2 separate regions of the Homo sapiens genome follow, and region 1 is linked to region 2. Evidence: promoter capture Hi-C in human tissues and cell types (Jung and others, 2019). All regions are on one chromosome and are shown on one strand. Each heading gives the region's core, a stretch centred on a gene start or on the middle of the fragment in contact. The rest is flanking DNA. Distances are from core to core; before and after follow the strand shown.

Region 1 (4,417 bases), core at 1,074-3,573, 87 kb after region 2:
CCACAGTCATCTATGGGCAGCAGCATGACTTTGTACCAAACATTGAAGGCATTTCCAGGGAATAATGATGGCTCCCAGATAATATATTGTTGTGAAAGACCTTTAGTTATTTACAAAAATCACATCACCCTTTTATTGGATTTAAGTCTTTTTTTTTTTTTTTGAGACAGAGTCTCCCTCTATCACCCAGGCTGGAGTGCAGTGGCGTGATCTCAGCTCACTGCAAGCTCTGCCTCCCAGGATCAAGCGATTCTCCTGCCTCAGCCTCCTGAGTAGCTGGGACTACAGGCACATGCCACCACGCCCGGCTAATTTTGTATTTTTAATAGTTTCACCATATTAGCCAGGATGGTCTCGATCTCTTGACCTCGTGATCCACCCACCTTGGCCTCCCAAAGTGCTGGGATTACAGGCGTGAGCCACTGCGCCCGGCCGGATTTAAATCTTTTAGGAGCCCATCTTCATTGAGATGTGAGATGTATTTGCGAGCGTGTGAGTCACATAACAATCTGTCTATTTGTAGGTTGGAGTCCGTCTCTCTGGACATAGCCAGCTCTAATGCCATCGACCTGGTGGTGGCCGCTGATGTGGAGCACTGTGAATGTCCGCAAGGCTACACAGGGACCTCCTGTGAGGTGACGCTTCTCTCTTCCTGTCTTTTTCCTTTCGTTCCTTCCTAAGGGGAAAACAGTGCACTGAAGGGGATGTCATGGCAAACATTTGATTTTTAGCTTTAGCAGCCCAATGTTTGGCTCAGTCTTTTTTGGGCAATAGAAATATTAGAAGTCACATTGTTTAAAAAAATCAGATTCCTCCACCAGGAATGGGCTGGAGCACCGGACAATATTCTGACTTAGTGCTGCCCTCTTGCCTTAGTCAACAAGAAACTTGCAATACTCATGCCATTGACTGTGTTTCTAAGGAGGATGGAACTTGATCATATCTGAACATTTACAAATCACCAGCATGTGACCTGGGTAGCTTTAGACAAGCCAGCCCTATTTTGAGACCTTTTATGGCCCCTCGCTATTTTACTTTGGTGGGCTCCACCTTACATGTGAAATATATGAAAATGCGCTTGGAATCCTCAATGAAAGTAATCTGTTGCTAAAAATATTTTGAAATCACTTGGACAAACATATTGATATTAATACCATAACAAGAATAGGCCGTAAGACTCATTGCACAACCATTACGTTTTTGTGTGTGTGTTTCTACCTTTAAAAAGAAATAAGGAACTGGATTATGGTGATGGTTGCACAGCTCGGTAAGGTTTTTACTAAAAGTCATTGAATTGTACACTTAAAATGGGTGAATTGTGTAGCATGTAAATGATACCTCAGTTAAGATGTTTAAGAAAAAAGACATTTCTGTACTCTGGCAACTGAGCAGTTTCTGTTTGTAACGTAGTGGAAAGAGGATGACTTTCCCTTCTCTTGCAGTCGTGCCTCTCTGGCTATTACCGCGTGGATGGAATACTCTTTGGAGGAATTTGTCAACCCTGTGAATGCCACGGCCATGCAGCTGAGTGTAATGTTCACGGCGTTTGCATTGTGAGTCTCTCACTGTAGTTCAGGTGCCCTCTCCTCCTCAATTCAGAGCCATTTGCTGTGTACAAGTGATTTTTTTTTAAGTGCTTCCTCCACGGAATAACCCTAGCCTCATAGACCCCAAAGAAAATTTACAGATTTAAGCTCATGTCATGAAATGTTTCCCGTTTTTTTTTTTGTTTTTTTTTTGAAAAAAGTTACTTTGGTAATAGTGGAAAAGGGATATACAACTTCATTATAGTTCTTTTTATTAGATTAATATAAAGTAATTGTTTTTATTTGCTGAGACTATAAAGCAATAGAAAGGTAAAAAAATGTTGTCTACTTATTAAATACAAAGCATAGGATCTTTAGATGACAGTGCTAATATTTATTTATTTATTTATTTGAGACAGGGTCTTACCTTGTCACCCAGGCTGGAGTGTGGTGGCACCAACACTGCTTACTGCAGCCCTGGATCTTCTGGGCTCAAATGGTCCTCCCACCTCAACCCTCCAAGTAGCTGAGGCCACAGACAATGCTAGTATTTTTTTTAAATCATGATATTACATAATATACCCTAAGAAGAAGAATAAAGTATAATCACACTCACTTATATACCATGCTTTATAGTTAGTTGGGATAAATTAATCAAACAGGTACTTCTTTCATGCAATATGAGTTGAAATAGGGCTTAAGAAATAGGTAGTTAATCTTGAGAATGAACTTTGGGGCAGGTGTGGGGCAAGACTTGTTTCTTAACTTCAATCAGGAATTCTTCTAGGCCCTATGCCCTGAAGCCAGGCCACACTCTGGGGTCTCATGGGTTTGATCCTCAGAGGTGGAGTGACTGCATATGCTGATCAGCTGTACCCTGGTCGCCTGGCAGGGAAATGTTCATGCTTTTTCCAAAAGAGATTGACTGAGTCACAGAGTTAGGGAAAATTAATTACCAGACCCAGGGAGAAGATCTTAGAATGATGTCCAGGATGGCTTATGTCCAGGATGGCTTAGAACTTAATTTTTCTTTATTCTGTAAGTAAAACTTTTGTTTTGCCCTTTGTTCTGTAAGTAAAGCTTCTGTAGGAATTGCATGAAGGGGTGGTTTACGGGCAGACTCAGTCCCTCCAGGATTGCTTTCCTCAGGTGCACAGCTTCCAACCGCTTGATGAGGTGGTTGCTTTTTTTTTCACCTCCTTTCCTTTGCCATTTGGGTTTGCAAGGCCTCCTGCCAGCATTTGGGGTGGGGTGGGGTGGGGGGTACAGCAGGCTGTGGTTCTGCCACTTATGTCTTTTGTAGCTAGGCTGAAAGAGTAGATTTCTCATGCTTCCATTAATGTATGTTTACAAATATATATTCACATTAAAGTGATAATGCTAAATAGCAACTGGCCTTAAAGCTTTAATTTTAATAAATAATAATTTTATAGCTTTAAACATGTTTTGGAAATAATTTTAGACTTACAGAAGAGCTATGAAAGAGTTACAGAAGTACAGAGAGTTCTGAAGTAACCTTCCCCCAGCATCCCCTAATGCTACCATCTTGCATAACTAGAGTGGAGTTATCAGAATGAAGAAGTAGCACGATAAGATGAACTACACCCCACATTCTGATTTCATCAGTTTTTCACTCATGCTCCTTTTTTTTGTAGGATCGAACCCAGGACCCCACACCATTCAGTGACTTTGCCTTTTTAGTCTCCTCTCCTCTAGGAAAGTTCCTCAGACTTCCTTGTCCTTCATGACTATGACACTTTTGAAGAGCACTGAGCATTCTGTGGAATGTCCCCCAGCCAGGGCTTGTCTGATGCTTTCTTATGACTAGGTTGAGGTTACACATTTTTGACCAGAAGACGTGGAGGTGCCGTGCCCTCTCATTGAGAGCAGATGGATAGGATATCATTGTGTCTTCTTCCTGGGGATCTTAATCTGGGTCACTTGAATTAGGTGATGTCTGCTAGGTTTTTCCACTCTGAAGTTACTATTTCTCCCTTCTTAATTAATGTTTGAGAGGGCAAAAATAATAAAAATTTAAATTAGAATTTAAGGAAATACAAAAAACGTGGTAGCATCATATATCTGTTAAATCTAACCTTGCTGGTTTTTTTTTTTCTAATATATTGTAAAAACAAGCTTGAATTCTTCCTTTTGTGTAGTTGTTCATAGCCCTGGGCCTTGCGTATAACTATCTAGCTTCCAGGAGTTAATTCTTTATTCACAGTTCATTAGAGATGAGGTTCCAGTTGCTCTTAGAGCCCCTGTTTTTCTCTCTGAGCTCTCTTAGCTCTTTATTCAAAGGAGAAGTCTGTGTATTTTCCTTGCAGCTTGGCATGATTTAGAAAAGAGAATGGCATCACAGTAAATTGTGCATGTCTTGGGCCCTCATGTCTTTCTTTTTTCAATCGAAAGATGTTTTTCCTCCCCAAGGAGAGGAATAGTCTCATTCCTTCACATACCAGATTCACCAACAGGGACAGTCAGGTAAAGGGCTGGTGGCACACGCCTGAAAAAGCACTGAAACAGACCCTCAGTGGGTTTTTCAACAGAACTACATACTAGTTTCCCCAAAGAGAAAGAAAGCACTATCTGACTCCTTGATCAAAGAAAACATACCATAGACATGTTCCAAATGAGCATTATCAAATATTTTTAAAATGAAATTGCAGTTACTCTGCAGAATACTTTTAGCTCAACCATGTAACCCTTTACTAAGACCAGTTGCATCTTGAATTAATTTGGATTCATTATCAAACCCAAGGTCCTATGAAGGATGGGAAGGAAAAAAGGGTCTAAGACTCTGTTGTCTGAGGACCAGCAGTGTGGGCATCACCTGGGAGCTTGCTAGAAGTGCAGAAACTCAGGCCCCACCTCAGATCCCCTGAACCAGA
Region 2 (4,983 bases), core at 2,431-4,930:
TGCAAGCTCCGCCTCCCGGGTTCATGCCATTCTCCTGCCTCAGCCTCCTGAGTAGCTGGGACTACAGGTGCCCGCCACCACGCCCGGCTACTTTTTTGTATTTTTAGTAGAGATGGGATTTCACCGTGTTAGCCAGGATGGTCTCGATCTCCTGACCTTGTGATCCACCCGCCTCAGCCTCCCAAAGTGCTGGGATTACAGGGGTGAGCCACGGCGCCCTGCCATACAATAAGCCGTCTTAGCAAAACTTTCCCAAACTGCCCAATCGGTACCTGGTCCTCCCATTCTTTATCTAAGTAACCAGATATTTCCTTGATGGCACTTATTAAATTTATGATTATTTTTTCTTTTTTCTGCCTTAACCATCAGACTGCATGCTCCACATGGTGGGAAATGTCATACGTCTTTCTCATTTCATGGTATATCCCTAGCACTGGCACTTAGCAGCCACTTAAAAAATGTTTATTGAATGAATGAAGTAGGCACCATTGCTATCTCTATTTTACAGAGGAGGAACTTGCCCAAGATGTCACTGCTAGTAAGCGTGGGGAAAGAATGTGAACCATCGCTGAGCCCAGCCTGAGCTTTTCTTCACTATCTAAAACATCCATACCTCTACCCATCTTCTGACCACCTGAACAAAACTGTTTACTTCTGTATGTTGGTTTTCTAGTTCCTTGTTTGCACATGTGCTTTTTAAAAATTATTATTATTATTATTTTGAGATGGAGTTTTGCTCTTGTTGTCCAGACTGGAGTGCAATGGCATGATCTCGGCTCACTGCAGCCTCTGCCTCCCGGGTTCAAGCAATTCTCCTGCCTCAGCGTCCCAAGTAGCTGGGATTACAGGAATCCGCCACCACGCCCGGCTAATTTTTGTATTTTTGGAAGAGATGGGGTTTCATCATGTTGACCAGGCTGGTCTCGAACTCCTAACCTCAGGTGATCTGCCCGTCTTGGCCTCCCAAAGTGCTGAGATTACAGGCTTGAGCCACCACTCCTGGCCACATGTGCTTATTTTATATACATAATTGTAATCAGAATGTCTATGTTATTTGGAATGTTGCATTTCTTAACATATGAGTTGTTTTTCATTGCAGAGTTTCACAATTCAAAAGTAGCTACATAATAGCCTGTTACATTGATTTATAAAGTACTTAACCATTTAAACTATCGCTTGACATTTAGGCATTTTCAATTGTTCATTATTTATAGGTGACTTTGAAGCAAGGATCTTTTTGTGTCCAGTTGAGTTGAATTTTTACTTTCTCACAAAATGTGAACATTCTTGTTATACTCATTTTCAACTTGAACAAGCCAGCCCTGCACTTTCATAGGGCTCTAGGTAATTTAGATATTTTCCAAGCATGCTAAAGATTGGAAAAATTTGTACTGCAGGGTTTTTAGAAGATGTGTAGAATTATGACATTTTTACTGCTGCATTTTATCCAAGTTTGTTCTGAATTCTTTTCATTGAAATCTTTTCTGCTTAATTTTGAGCAGTGATAAATAGTGCCAATTTGTAACTTTTGATGCTTCCTATTCACTCCCCAGAGGTGCTGACCACTTGCCTCCCTTGAAATTACACACGTGAGATCCCTGCTTGCAGTTCAAAGATAAGGTCCCATTGACCTCCTGCCTGAATTTCTAGGAACCCAGGATATGGGGAGACCCAGAATATGGGGACACCCCTTGTGATTCCTCCAGTGTGGTTTTTTTTTTTTTTTTTTTTGAGACGGAGTCTTGCTCTGTCGCCCAGGCGGGGGTGCAGTGGCGCTATCCTGGCTCACTGCAAGCTCCGCCTCCCGGGTTCACACCATTCTCCTGTCTCAGCCTCCCGAGTAGCTGGGACTACAGGCGCCTGCCACCGCCCCCCGGCTAATTTTTTGTATTTTTAGTGGAGACGGGGTTTCACCGCGTTAGCCAGGATGGTCTCGATCTCCTGACCTCAGGTGATCCACCCGCCTCGGCCTCCCAAAGTGCTGGGATTACAGGCGTTAGCCACCACCTCCAAGTTTGCTTTTGATCAACATCCTCTGTGATTTCAGCGTGGTGTTGTAAAGGACTATGGACTAGAAACCAGACATGGGGTCTAGCTCTAGACCAGACATTTGCTGACACTGAGAACTCACTTCCTTATCTCCTGGCAAGCATCTCATAGAGTTGTGAAGATCCCAAAAGATAATCTATATGAATGCTAGGTCTGTGTGTGCAGTTATTTCAGTGCATAAATGCTTATAATTCTGCATTTTAATAGCTATGTGCCTAATACTATAATATTTGATCATTTATTAAATACTAAGTTTACTTATTTAATAATTACTTAGTAACATTTTAATAGTTACGAACGTCTGCATTTTAAATTTAGTACTGTATGGAGTATTCACTGAACTATATTGCATCCTTTTAAAACGGCCAAACTATCATTTTGTTCCATGATTTTTAAAAATTAATCGATGGCTAAGTACTATAACTAAGTTCTACTCACTAGATGTGTAAGGAAGTGTCCTCAGAAAAACAGGAATTGATAGAGTTGTCAAATAGATTCACACAAGTGAGAGGAAATTATCTTCCTATCAAGAAAAAAAAACCCTGCAAAATAAGATGGTGGGATGATAATGAGATATTGTCCCTGTATATTTATATTGAGAAAATGTGAAATCTACAAAGTGTTATGAATACCTTTTTTTTCTTTTTTGAGACAGAGTCTCGCTCTGTCGCCCAGGCTGGAGTGCAGCTGGTGTGATCTCAGCTCACTGCAACCTCCCACTCCCGGGTTCAAGCAATTCTCCTGCCTCAGCCTCCCAAGTAGCTGGGACTGCAAGCGCGTGCCACCACACCCAGCTAATTTTTGTATGTTTTTAGTAGAGACGAGGTTTCACCATGATGGCCAGGCTGGTTTCGAACTCCTGACCTCAAGTGATCCACCCGCCTCGGCCTCCCAAAGTGCTGGAATTACAGGCGTGAGCCACTGCACCCATCCAATACTTTTGATAGAAAAAAAAAATCAGAGGAAATTAAAAATTCTTTATCGGGGACCAGACATAGTTTTAAAATAATAATAATTATAATAACAGCAGTTGAAGTTGCGTGTCAGGAGCGCGTCCTCTCTCTCCAGCAGTAAGGGTATCTAATTATAATAATTAAGTCCAAGTGACCTTGCCTTCTTTAGGCAAACAAAGTCGGGAACAAGTTGCAACTCATTTTCAGAAAAAATCCTCAAGTCCTCTGCCCACGGCGGAAAGGGCGGCGGGTCGGCCGAGCCTGGGTGGCTTCCCGAGGGGTCGCCTCTCGCCCAGCTCCTGGCAGGGGCGCGTGGGTCCTGGCCCGGGGACTGCAGGGCCGCGGCGGGGCGGGCAGGGTCAGCTGGGCACATAGTTTCTCGGAATCCACCCTCCCGGACCCCCGCAGCCCAGTTTCTCCTCCCCTCAGCCCACCTTCTCTGCCCACCTCCTACCCGGAGCCGGGGAGGCGGCCGCGGTCAGCCCGGCCTCCCCGACTTGGGGTCCGCGTGCGCCGGGACCCAGAGGCCAAGCTGGGCGCCCCCGGGGGAGGGGTCTGGGTGGCGGGGCCAAGCCGGGGCGGGACGGGGCGGGGCGGGGCGCAGCCGAGGGGTGTGTCCGAGGGCGGCTGGAGGGAGGGGCGGCAGGACTCCAGGAGCGGCGGGGCCAGGGCAGCGCGGACTCGCGTCCCGTGGAGCGTTCCAGGCGGGCGCGCGGCTTTCTCCCCAGACCCACCGAGTGGCGGCGGAGGCGAGATGCGCGGGGGCGTGCTCCTGGTCTTGCTGCTGTGTGTCGCCGCGCAGTGCCGGCAGAGAGGTGAGCCCGGCCCGGGTCCTAGGGTCCCTGTCCCCCGCAGGCGGGCGGGCGGGGGCGGCCGCGGACAAAGCCCGTCGCGTTGGGGCTGCTGGAGTCCGGGCGCGCATCCTGATCCACCTCGGAGTGGGTGTCTCGGCCACGTGGGTCTCCCGCGCTTGCCGGGGAGGGCTGGATGGGGACGCCGCTCCTGCCGGACGCTGCCCGCTCTTTGCAGGCTTAGGCTTTAACCTCCTCGGGCTTTGGGGTTAAAGCCCAGCCTCGCCTCTGGCTTTTGCGGGACTTCGCGACCCAGGAGCGCCATCTACGCGAGCAGTGCTGGGGGTGGCGGGAGCGGGGCGCCCGGAGCGGGGCGCCGGGGGTTGCTTTTAGTGCCCCGGCTGCGCGGGCGGGGGTGGCGGGGCTGTTGGCCGGGCGCGGGGGATGAATGGAGAAAGAGCTCTCCCGAGTCGCCCTCATTGTCCGGCTGCGCAAGCTGGGTCGCGGCGGCCGGGAAAGGGCGGATTCCTCGGGGCCCCTGGCAGCCAAGCGGGCTAGTGGGGAGAGACGCGGCGAGAAGGGCGCCCCTAGCCAGCCGTCCCGGGCAGGGGGACCCGCAGGCGGCGTCCAGGGCACTGATGCGCCTTCCCGACCCGCGCTTTTTGTGCAATAGGCGAAGTGGCCAAACCCGCTCATTCACTGCGCGGGATTGACCGTGGGCGCGCCGGGGCGAGGGACCAGCGGAGAAGGGAGCACCTTGCATGCGCGTTGCAAGGATTGAGAAGAGAAACTCAGAGCGAATTTTCATTTTCTGTTTTTGCGGGCGGGCGGAAAGAGAGAGAGAGAGAAGAAAGAAAGAGAGAGAGAAAGAGAAAAGAAAGAGAGAGAAAGAAAGAAAAAGAAAGAAAGAATTCTTTTCCCTTTTGGGGGACAACCCTAGTCACCCACGCCACCCCTAGAGCTGTCTTCGCAGCGTGGCTTCGTGTTGGCTAGGCAGTCACAAATATTTGTTGAAAACATCTTAATGTATGCAGCACATGACAATGGGCGTATTCCCACGAATATAAACTTCATTAAAAAAAAATTCGAGTCAAAAGTAGTGGGCGGAATTTGCAGTGCCCTCGTGGGAAACGTGTGTTTGGGCATTGTGCTGAGTTGTGAGCTCTGCAGAAACGCGACCATCTCATTCA

What was found. The method cuts DNA at HindIII sites, captures the fragments that hold promoters and counts their contacts. A contact is called where the count stands out against the background at its distance.
Region 1: a contact is called between a fragment that was not itself captured here and the fragment with the promoter of LAMA1 in region 2, in 2 of the 25 tissues and cell types used here (mesendoderm cells and spleen).

What each region holds. Positions count from the first base shown.
Region 1 is chr18:7,029,202-7,033,618 of GRCh38, reverse strand. It overlaps LAMA1 (laminin subunit alpha 1), which reads left to right. Exons shown (of 63, transcript NM_005559.4): 15 at 524-635; 16 at 1,443-1,553. Among named protein-coding and RNA genes, the nearest start is that of LAMA1, 86 kb to the left of the region's middle. The HindIII fragment of the contact is 6,276 bases long and covers 1-4,417 here.
Region 2 is chr18:7,116,494-7,121,476 of GRCh38, reverse strand. It overlaps LAMA1 (laminin subunit alpha 1), which reads left to right and starts at 3,680. Exons shown (of 63, transcript NM_005559.4): 1 at 3,680-3,817. The coding sequence starts at 3,757. The HindIII fragment of the contact is 17,081 bases long and covers 1-4,983 here.